3 separate regions of the Homo sapiens genome follow, and regions 1 and 3 are each linked to region 2. Evidence: promoter capture Hi-C in 16 types of primary human blood cells and fetal thymus (Javierre and others, 2016). All regions are on one chromosome and are shown on one strand. The core of a region is centred on a gene start or on the middle of the fragment in contact, and the rest is flanking DNA. Distances in the headings are between cores, read along the strand shown. Region 1 overlaps ERMP1 (endoplasmic reticulum metallopeptidase 1). Region 2 holds the start of KDM4C (lysine demethylase 4C). Region 3 holds the start of RANBP6 (RAN binding protein 6).

What was found. The method cuts DNA at HindIII sites, captures the fragments that hold promoters and counts their contacts. A CHiCAGO score of 5 or more calls a contact.
Region 1: a contact is called between a fragment that was not itself captured here and the fragment with the promoter of KDM4C in region 2, in 1 of 17 cell types (activated CD4 T cells). The highest score is 5.7, in activated CD4 T cells.
Region 3: a fragment that was not itself captured here is called in contact with the fragment with the promoter of KDM4C in region 2 in 4 of 17 cell types (M2 macrophages, monocytes, naive CD4 T cells and 1 more); the score reaches 5.9 in M2 macrophages.

Annotation. Positions count from the first base shown.
Region 1 is chr9:5,828,937-5,831,661 of GRCh38, forward strand. It overlaps ERMP1 (endoplasmic reticulum metallopeptidase 1), which reads right to left. Exons shown (of 15, transcript NM_024896.3): 2 at 1,791-2,092. Among named protein-coding and RNA genes, the nearest start is that of ERMP1, 2.8 kb to the right of the region's middle. The HindIII fragment of the contact is 1,773 bases long and covers 414-2,186 here.
Region 2 is chr9:6,756,557-6,759,256 of GRCh38, forward strand. KDM4C (lysine demethylase 4C) reads left to right here and starts at 1,417. Exons shown (of 22, transcript NM_015061.6): 1 at 1,417-1,647. RefSeq lists enhancers at 1-219, 951-1,310, 2,511-2,700 and silencers at 1,351-1,590, 1,681-1,850. The HindIII fragment of the contact is 10,552 bases long and covers 1-2,700 here.
Region 3 is chr9:6,013,763-6,016,574 of GRCh38, forward strand. RANBP6 (RAN binding protein 6) reads right to left here and starts at 1,862. Exons shown (of 1, transcript NM_012416.4): 1 at 1-1,862. The coding sequence starts at 1,845. RefSeq lists an enhancer at 1,681-1,740. The HindIII fragment of the contact is 2,610 bases long and covers 167-2,776 here.

The sequences.
Region 1 (2,725 bases), core at 50-2,549, 930 kb before region 2:
AAATGGACATAAAAAAACCACTGGTGGCCGGGCACAGTGGCTCACACCTATAATCTCAGAAATTTGGGAGACTGAGGTAGGCGGATCACTTGAGGTCAGGAGTTCAAGACCAGCCTGGCCAACATGGTGAAACCCTGTCGCTGCCAAAAATACAAAAAAAATCAGCCGAGTGTGGTGGCACAGTAGGAGAATCGCTTAAACCCGGGAGGCAGAGGATGCAGTGAGCCAAGATTGTGCCACTGCATGCCAGCCTGGTGACAGAGTGAGACTTGGCCCCCCAGCCAAAAAAAAAAAAAAAAAAACACTAAACCACTGGTTACCCCAGCAGCACACGAAGGTACTTCTGGCTTATTTAACAAACGTGTGTATACTGATTTTTGAAAATGCAAGTTACATTCTAAACGCAATTGTCAAGCTTTCTAAATGAAGATATTCTAATATGAATCATTTTATCAAGCAAATAAATTTTACTTACATTTTGTATAACTCTAGACGTTCAAATTTGGCCTGCTATAAGTTCGAGTAATCCAGAAGTGTTAATATTACATAAGAGTTAATAAAAACTTTTAAAAATCACTTTCCATGCCAGGTACTATTTTAGCGTTTTACTTATTTTTAATCCTCCAAGCAACACTATTAGGAAAGTACTATTATTTTCTCCATTACACAGATGAGAAACTAAGAAGTTAAGCAATTTGCAAAAGGGAGTATTAATTACACCCTAATATTCTTTTTCCTTTCAAATGTAGCTGAAAGAACTGACTGGCCAGGAAATCCAGCATCTTATCCTAGTTTTGTCTCTGATCAGCGATGACCAGCTAGCTAAATGTACTCCTGTATCAAATGAGGGGTTCAGCCAGATGCCATCTCAGGTCTTGTCTACCACTAAAATGCTATGCCATTGTAAATGCTATTTTCCATCCCTATTTACAATCCCTTTAACCACTGAATACAATTTTCTGAAAAATAAATATTTTAATAAATGGAAGTTCAATTTAGGGGATTCCCATTCATTTGACAAATATATACTGCATCAGGCACTGTCCTAAATGCAAGTATTCTATTTTGCCAAATGATTTTCAGAGAAAGATTTACACATTAATTAGGTACTTTAACAGTATGGCACCCTCAGTGGAGCAAAATTCTCACTTTATAGGTCAACAGAATCTGCTAGAAGAGATATCCGCCAACCCGCAGCCCAGGACAGCTTTGAATGCAGCCCAATACAAATTTGTAAACTTTCTTAAAACATGAGTTTTTTTTTTTAAGCTCATCAGCCATCATTAGTGTATATTATGTGTGGCCCATGACAATTCTTCTTCTTCCAATGTGGCCCAGGGCAGCCAAAAGATTGGACACCCCTGCTCTAAAACCATGCAGTAACCCTTGAAGGCAGGGACTGTCCTTATGTGGTATCCCCAAAGCCTAGTATAACACCCAGCTGAGTAAAACACTTTCTAAGTGTCAGAACCTAACTCCAGGACACTAGGACACACACACTGTCTGGTAACATTGAGAAAGCTGCTTCAGTCTACCAGAAACATTCCAAGTCTTATCACTGGGCTGCTGGCATTAACACCAAAAAATAATATTAATAAAGCACTTAAGAGAAGACAGAATGGTTAGATCCTAAACTAAATGATACTATCCTAATTATCCTGCTTTCCATCACAAAGAAAAAAGGTTTGCCCAAGAAAATGGTCCCCACAATTGCCCAAGTAGCTTGGGGTTATGTTAATAAACTTTCTGGGCTGTGACAAGTTCCAAATGACTAAAAAACAGGTACATACCTGGTGAGTTTGCTACTGAGTCAAAATGACAATTAGCCAAGACAGCATGCTGGGCTCCATCTCTGGGTTCCAGCTTTACCACAACATTGGTGATGTTGTCATAATAGCTTGTAAAACCTCCCAAGAAATCAATGCTAAAAGAGCCTGTGGGCCGTTGTACATCTACTGAAATCTTATGAAGGCTGTTGCTTTGCACTTCAATCAGTTTAATCTGTTCCAAAAGGTAGTGCACGGTCAGAATTTCATTTTCTGGACTTCCTGTAGTCCTGGGGCCAATGGAGGTTATGTGTTCAAGATAATCCCTGGAAGTAACCAAAAGAATAACAAAGGTTTGTAGTTAAAATTGACACTTAGCGTGGGTAACTTTTCCACTACACACCCCTTCCTCCCCAAAAAAGCTTAGTTCTTTGCCTTATATAAAAGGGACCGCCTTTCATTATTTCAGACACCAAGTGAACATCACTTATAAAGTTCCATATTTTTATTGTTGCCTCCCACGAGTTGACCCCTTCAGTTTTCTCCACCATCCCACTCCCAACTTCTCCCCATATCAAACCAATACAAGGACTAGGGATGTATTCAAAACGTGTGACCACTGGCCAGGCACGGTGGCTCACGCCTGTAATCCCAGGACTTTCGGAGGCTGAGGTGGGTGGATTGCTTGAGCTCAGGAGTTTGAGACCAGCCTGGGCAACATGGTGAAACCCCATCTCTTCTAAAACTACAAAAACTAGCCAGATGTAGACTACTATCCGCCTGTAGTCCCAGCTACTCAAGAGGCTGAGGTGGGAGGACTGCTTGAACCTGGGAGGTGGAGGCTACAGACCCGAGATGGAGCCACTGCACTCCAGCCTGGGCGACAGAGCCAGGCCCTGTCTCAGAAAACAAACAAAAAAAGCTAAAGACTAAGCAGGATAGAATATAACTTCACTGTG
Region 2 (2,700 bases), core at 167-2,666:
AAATACAAAAATTAGCTGGGCGTGGTGGCGGGCGACTGTAATCCCAGCTACTCGGGAGGCTGAGGCAGGAGAATCTCTCGAACCCGTGAGGCGGAGGTTGCAGTAAGCCGAGATAGCGCCATTGCACTCCAAACTGGGCGACACAGCAAGACTCCGTCTCAAAAAAGAGTGTGTCTGTGTGTGTAGCGGAACTTTGTTTTTAACAACTAAAGAAATATGGTGACCCAATAATCCCGTTAGCCTTAGCTCAATTAATCACATTCCATCTGTCCTCACAATGTTCACCCCAGTGAGAAACGAGTTCAAGCGCGTGGTAAGCGGTGTCGATATATTTTTAAAATTCTGTTATCAGTATAATGTAACAGAAAATTCAGCATATTAGCCCAACTTTGCTCACTGGTGTGAAGATATGCCCAATCTTTCTTAGCTAAGACGTTAGAGAAAACGCCACAAGGGACCCAGCTGGGAGCTCTGTAGGAAGTTTAAAAAAAAAATCATTCAGCTTTGCAAAACATCTGATGCTCAACCATCTGTCTTTGGCAGTACAGGGGCTTAAGGTCTGGTTGGTTCCTTCTGACACCTCGGAAGGCGGAGTTACAGAGGAAAAGCAACAAGTTGTAGGAAGTTAACTTATCTAGTCTCAGACGCTGGAGGCACCTGCATTTCTAGTCACTTCAGTTCTGGCCAAACTGTTATCAACTCTAGTTTCTGAGGGACCGCCAGCCCAGGATTCCTATTGGGGTCACCTTTGTGCCTCCCTATCTTAAGAGCACACTTGGGCGGGTCGGGGCGGGACGTGCTGGGTGTAGGTGACTCAACACCGGACAGTTTTGCTTCCAGAGGCTGACACGCTCCTGCGCGGTAGTTGTTAAAGGGTTGGGACACGAAGATACTCTTCGCCTATTCGGGATCTCCCATTGTGGGAAGGAGGCTCAGTGGTCCCGGCCACCGGGTGAAGGGAGAACGGGAACACAGCGCTGTCATCGCCGGAGAGCTGCGAGCCCCGACTTTCTCGCCAGGCTCTCCAGTACATTCCGAGGCTCCACCCCGGTAACGCCACGCTGACGTCCGCGCGTCGGAGGCCGCCATAGGTGCGCGTCGGCGCCCAGGAGGACGTGTGGCGCGTGGACTACATCAGGTCCAGCCCTGCGGGACCCCAGCCAGCGCTTCCGGGCAAGGTTCTGTGCACCTGTTTTCTCCTTCTACGCGAGTATCTTTCCCCTCCGGAAAGAATGGGATATGCCTGTGTCCAAAGGACAAGAAGATGCGCGCCAGCAAGCCTAAGTTAACCACAGCGCGGAAGTTGAGCCCAAAGCAAGAGCGTGCCGGGCACCTTTAAGCTGTTTGTAAGCCCACGTGACTCACCAAGTGCGGGCCCCAGCGGTCACGTGACGGCGCGCGCGCCCTCGCGCAGGGAGAGCCGGCGGTGCGCGCGCCTTCGCCGCTGCCTCCCACCCACCCCCTCGACGGGAGGGTGAGGCGCGGCGCAGTGATCGGGCGGCCGGGGTCCTGTGCGCGTGCGCAGCGAACAGCTGTCACCTAGTGCGGAACAAGTCTCCCAAATTTCCCAAATCTCCCTGGGCCGGAGGCCACTGTCTTCTCTTCCTCCTCCACCGAGTCGTGCTCTCGCCCCAACCCGCGCGCCAGGTAACCGCTTTTCCGGAGTCTGGGGGCCAGGGCGGGGGGAGGGTCCGGAGAGGTCTTCCCGGCACTGCCCCCCTCCGCGTGGGGCACGGGGGTGCGGGCGTCCGGGCGAGCGGCGACGCTGGGGCAGAGACGCTCCGTCCGTGACTGCAGCGACTGTCAAGCTGGGGAGGGAGCGGCCGGCCGCGGCCGCAGGGGAGGGATGCGGGGGCCGGTGACAGCCCGCTCCGGCCCTTACCGAGGTTCGGTACCCGCGCTCGCCGTTTTCCCGGGATCCGGAGTCGGGGTCGCCTCCTTGGGGCAGAGGAGCGCTCGGGCGGTCCTGGGATGCGGACCTCTTAACGCCGCCAGTCGGCTGTGGCGGACTCCAGGAAGGCCGGGCCTGGTGCACCCCTCGGGGCCCTCCCTTCCCTGGGAGTGTCACGACCCGCGGGGTGAGGGTGGGAGCTCCTCTCCTGACCACCCGTTGCAGGCAGTCATCCCGTCATTCGGGGTCGTCTTCAGCCCTCGCGGCTGTCCTTTTGGTGTTTCTTTCCCCCGGCATGGGGCCATTTCTTCCTGCAGTGCCTGGAGGAACCATGATGCGGTGTAGACGGCGGGTGCTTAAATAAATGCGAGTTGGATTAGGGCGCGTGGACTGCCAGGCACAGAACGTGGCGTGGAGTGGGGACGTGGAGGAGGGAGCCAGACAGGCCGGGGCTGTAGGCAGGAGCTTGGGGTTTTCCTCTGTGCTCCGCCAGTAAAGCCAGCAGCCGGGATTCAGATGCTTTCCGCGTGGACTTGATGCTGGGCTCCCCCTTTGCTGCGCGGTGCAAGCCTGCGCTGGCTGGCTCTGATTGTGGGCAATACTACCGGGAGGGGTTTTGTCAGGTTCCTTCTTCCGGAAGAGACAAGGTAAACTTTTTTTTGCGCTTGATAAACTAACCCCGAGAGGTGATTTATAAAGCACTGTTCGGAAATGTAGGTTAGAAAAGCAGAGTCACTTTTATCCTGGTGAAAGTTACTAGTAGGTTCCGGCCACTTAGGTTCACACTAAACTCTGCCCTATTTTCACCC
Region 3 (2,812 bases), core at 222-2,721, 740 kb before region 2:
TGCTGAAACCATGTAAGAGGTCTGAGGGTCATCATCTTCCATATTATTTAAGTCTGATTGTGTCTTCAACAACAGCTGCATCACATTTGATGCATCTTGCATAAATTTTTCCTTCCCAACAGCAAGACCAATATGGCTAATGCACTCGATAGTTTTTCCTCTCAGAAGCTTGAGTTCCTTCTGAACAGCAAGCTCAACAATGTGCTTTAGTGAGGGCATGAATATATCATAATATGGGACAAATTTTTCTTCTATTGTATCTGCAACTGATGCAATGGTTGTCACAAGTTGTTCCAAAGCCAACTTAGTTCCATTCCGAATCAACTCTTGAAGTTTAATCACCAAGACGGAATGTAGATTTTTCACCATACTATCCACATATAGAACTAGCAATGATTTAGGGCAGTCTTCAATAAAAATAATAAGAGCAGAAGCTGCATGTGATTGCACACGCTGATTACCTTGATTTTCCATGGTACGTAACAGAGCTGCAATCACTGTTTCATGAAATTTCTTTTGGAAATTAGGTGCAAAATCTGTAGCCATCTGTCCAAGTGTAGTACAGGCTGCAGCCCTCACCCTTGGATGAGGATCCTGAAGAAAAAGCAAAACGGAGTTAACTGTTTCATCTAGAATTGATTCCATTTGTTGATGGCATCCTTCTCCAATGGCAGATAAGGCCATTAATCCAGCATGTCGATACTTCCAGTCAGGGCTCTGAAGCATCTGCATGATATGCTCCTTGGTCATTGGTAAAACAACTTTTCCACCAAGCCCACAAGCCAGTCTGTCTAGTGCACTCTCCGCAGCAACTGCATTGCTGTCAAAATCATCTTCTTCCATTTCATCAGCATTTACCCAGTCCTCATCATCTTGTAGATCAACCATCATTGCTAATATATGAGGAACTGCCTGTGCAATAATATTTGTATGTTTTTTCAACATCGGAGTGGCAGTTTCAGACAAGGTCACTATAACTTCGAGGGCCAGCTGGCGCTGCAGATTACTAAGCCTAGAGTCTCCACATAACTTCAAACTCAACTGTAGAGTATCTTCTAAATAAGGACCCAAGTACTTAGGTACGGTATCTGCAATCTCAACAAGGGATTCTAGCACTGAATCATCATCCTGGTAGCATGAGTCATTCACAGCCTGTAAGATTCCAGGAAGCAAGTCTGCAAAGTCTTTGAAAAGAGCAATATTATTCTCATTAGCAAGTACAAATGCAGCTGCAGCTCTAGCGGATAATGTCCTGATTGCTGGATGTTCTTGATCTTGAATACACTGGTCCAACAACCGTTTGATGATATCCAAATCATGCCGCTCTTGGGTCCCAAAAATCCCAGGAAAGTGCCAGAAAACGTGAAGTGCAACTTCCCATAGAACCACATTTTTGGAGTAGATTGAATCAATAAGAAACTTCAGACCTTCCGGCCAGTGGTTAGTGCCATCCTCATCTATCAAATTCCTGGCCAGCACTGCAAAAATATCACAAAGTTTTTTCCTCATGCTAGCATGTGTTTCTAACTTAACAGCCAGAATCAGTTCAATCTTGACATCTCTCTGAACATCAGCAGGCAGATTTGGATAAACCTCCTCAAACCCAGAGGACAAAAGCCGTCGTAGCAGTGCGGCAGCCATTTGTCTCACCTCATAACCTGCTCTTCTATTTCTGACGGCATCTAAGAGGAAGGTAGTCTTACACAGACCTGGGATATTTTCATAGATTTCCTCTGCTTGCCTCCGCACCATACAGCTTGGATTGATCAGGTTCTTCAGAAGCTGGTAAAACTCTTGCTTTTCTGACACGGTCGCCGGCACCCCTGCAGACGCGGTTGCCGCCATTGCGCTCTGTCAAAGCTACCGCGACCGGGAAGGAGGGAGGGGGTCTGCGGCTCGAAGCAGTGACGTAGGCGAGGCGCCGGCGGGGATGGGCGGGGTGCTTCTCCCTCCTCTGCCCAGAAACTCTAGCTGCGCTCTGGCAGGCTGCGAGCTAGGTTTTGGAGAGAGGTGAGAGCCGTGTGGAGGCCAATGGCATCCTCCATTTGTTTTTCAATAAGATAAACGTGCACTTGCAGGCGAGAGAAGAAAAGCATTGATTAGAATGGGATCATGACTTTTTTTTTTTTTGGATACAAGGTCTGGCTGTGTCACCTAGGCTGGAGTATAGCGGCGCGATCCCTGCTCACTGCAGCCTCAACCTCCTGGGCTCAAGCGATCCTCCCCGCCTCAGTTCCCCCAGTAGCTGGGACCACAGGCGCGCGCCACCACGCCCGGCTAATTGTGTTTTTTATAGAGACAGGGTTTCGCCATGTTGCCCAGGCTGGTCTCGAACTCCTGGGCTCAGGTGATCTGCCCGCCTCGGCCTCCCGAAGTACTGGGAATACAGGTGTGAGCCACTGCTTCTGGTCAGATTATGAGTGATTTTTTTCTTTTATTTCTAAACTATATTGTTACTTTGATAATTTTAAAACAATAAGTCTATCTTGAAAACATGCCAAGTGAAAGAAACCAGTCACAACCACATATTGTATGATTCCATTTGTATGAAAGGTACCAAACAGGCAAATTGTATAACAGAAATTAGTGGTTGCCAGAGGTTGGGGGGAGGGGAGGATAGAGAATGACTGCTATCAAATAGGGTGTTTCTTTCTGAGTGATGAAATGTTCTAAAATTAATTGTGATGGTTGCACAATTCTGTGATTATACTAAAAACCATTGAGTTGTTAAATTTAAATTGGTGAATTGTATGGCATATAAATAATACTACAATAAAGCTTTATAAAATAATAAGTGTGATAATAAAATAAT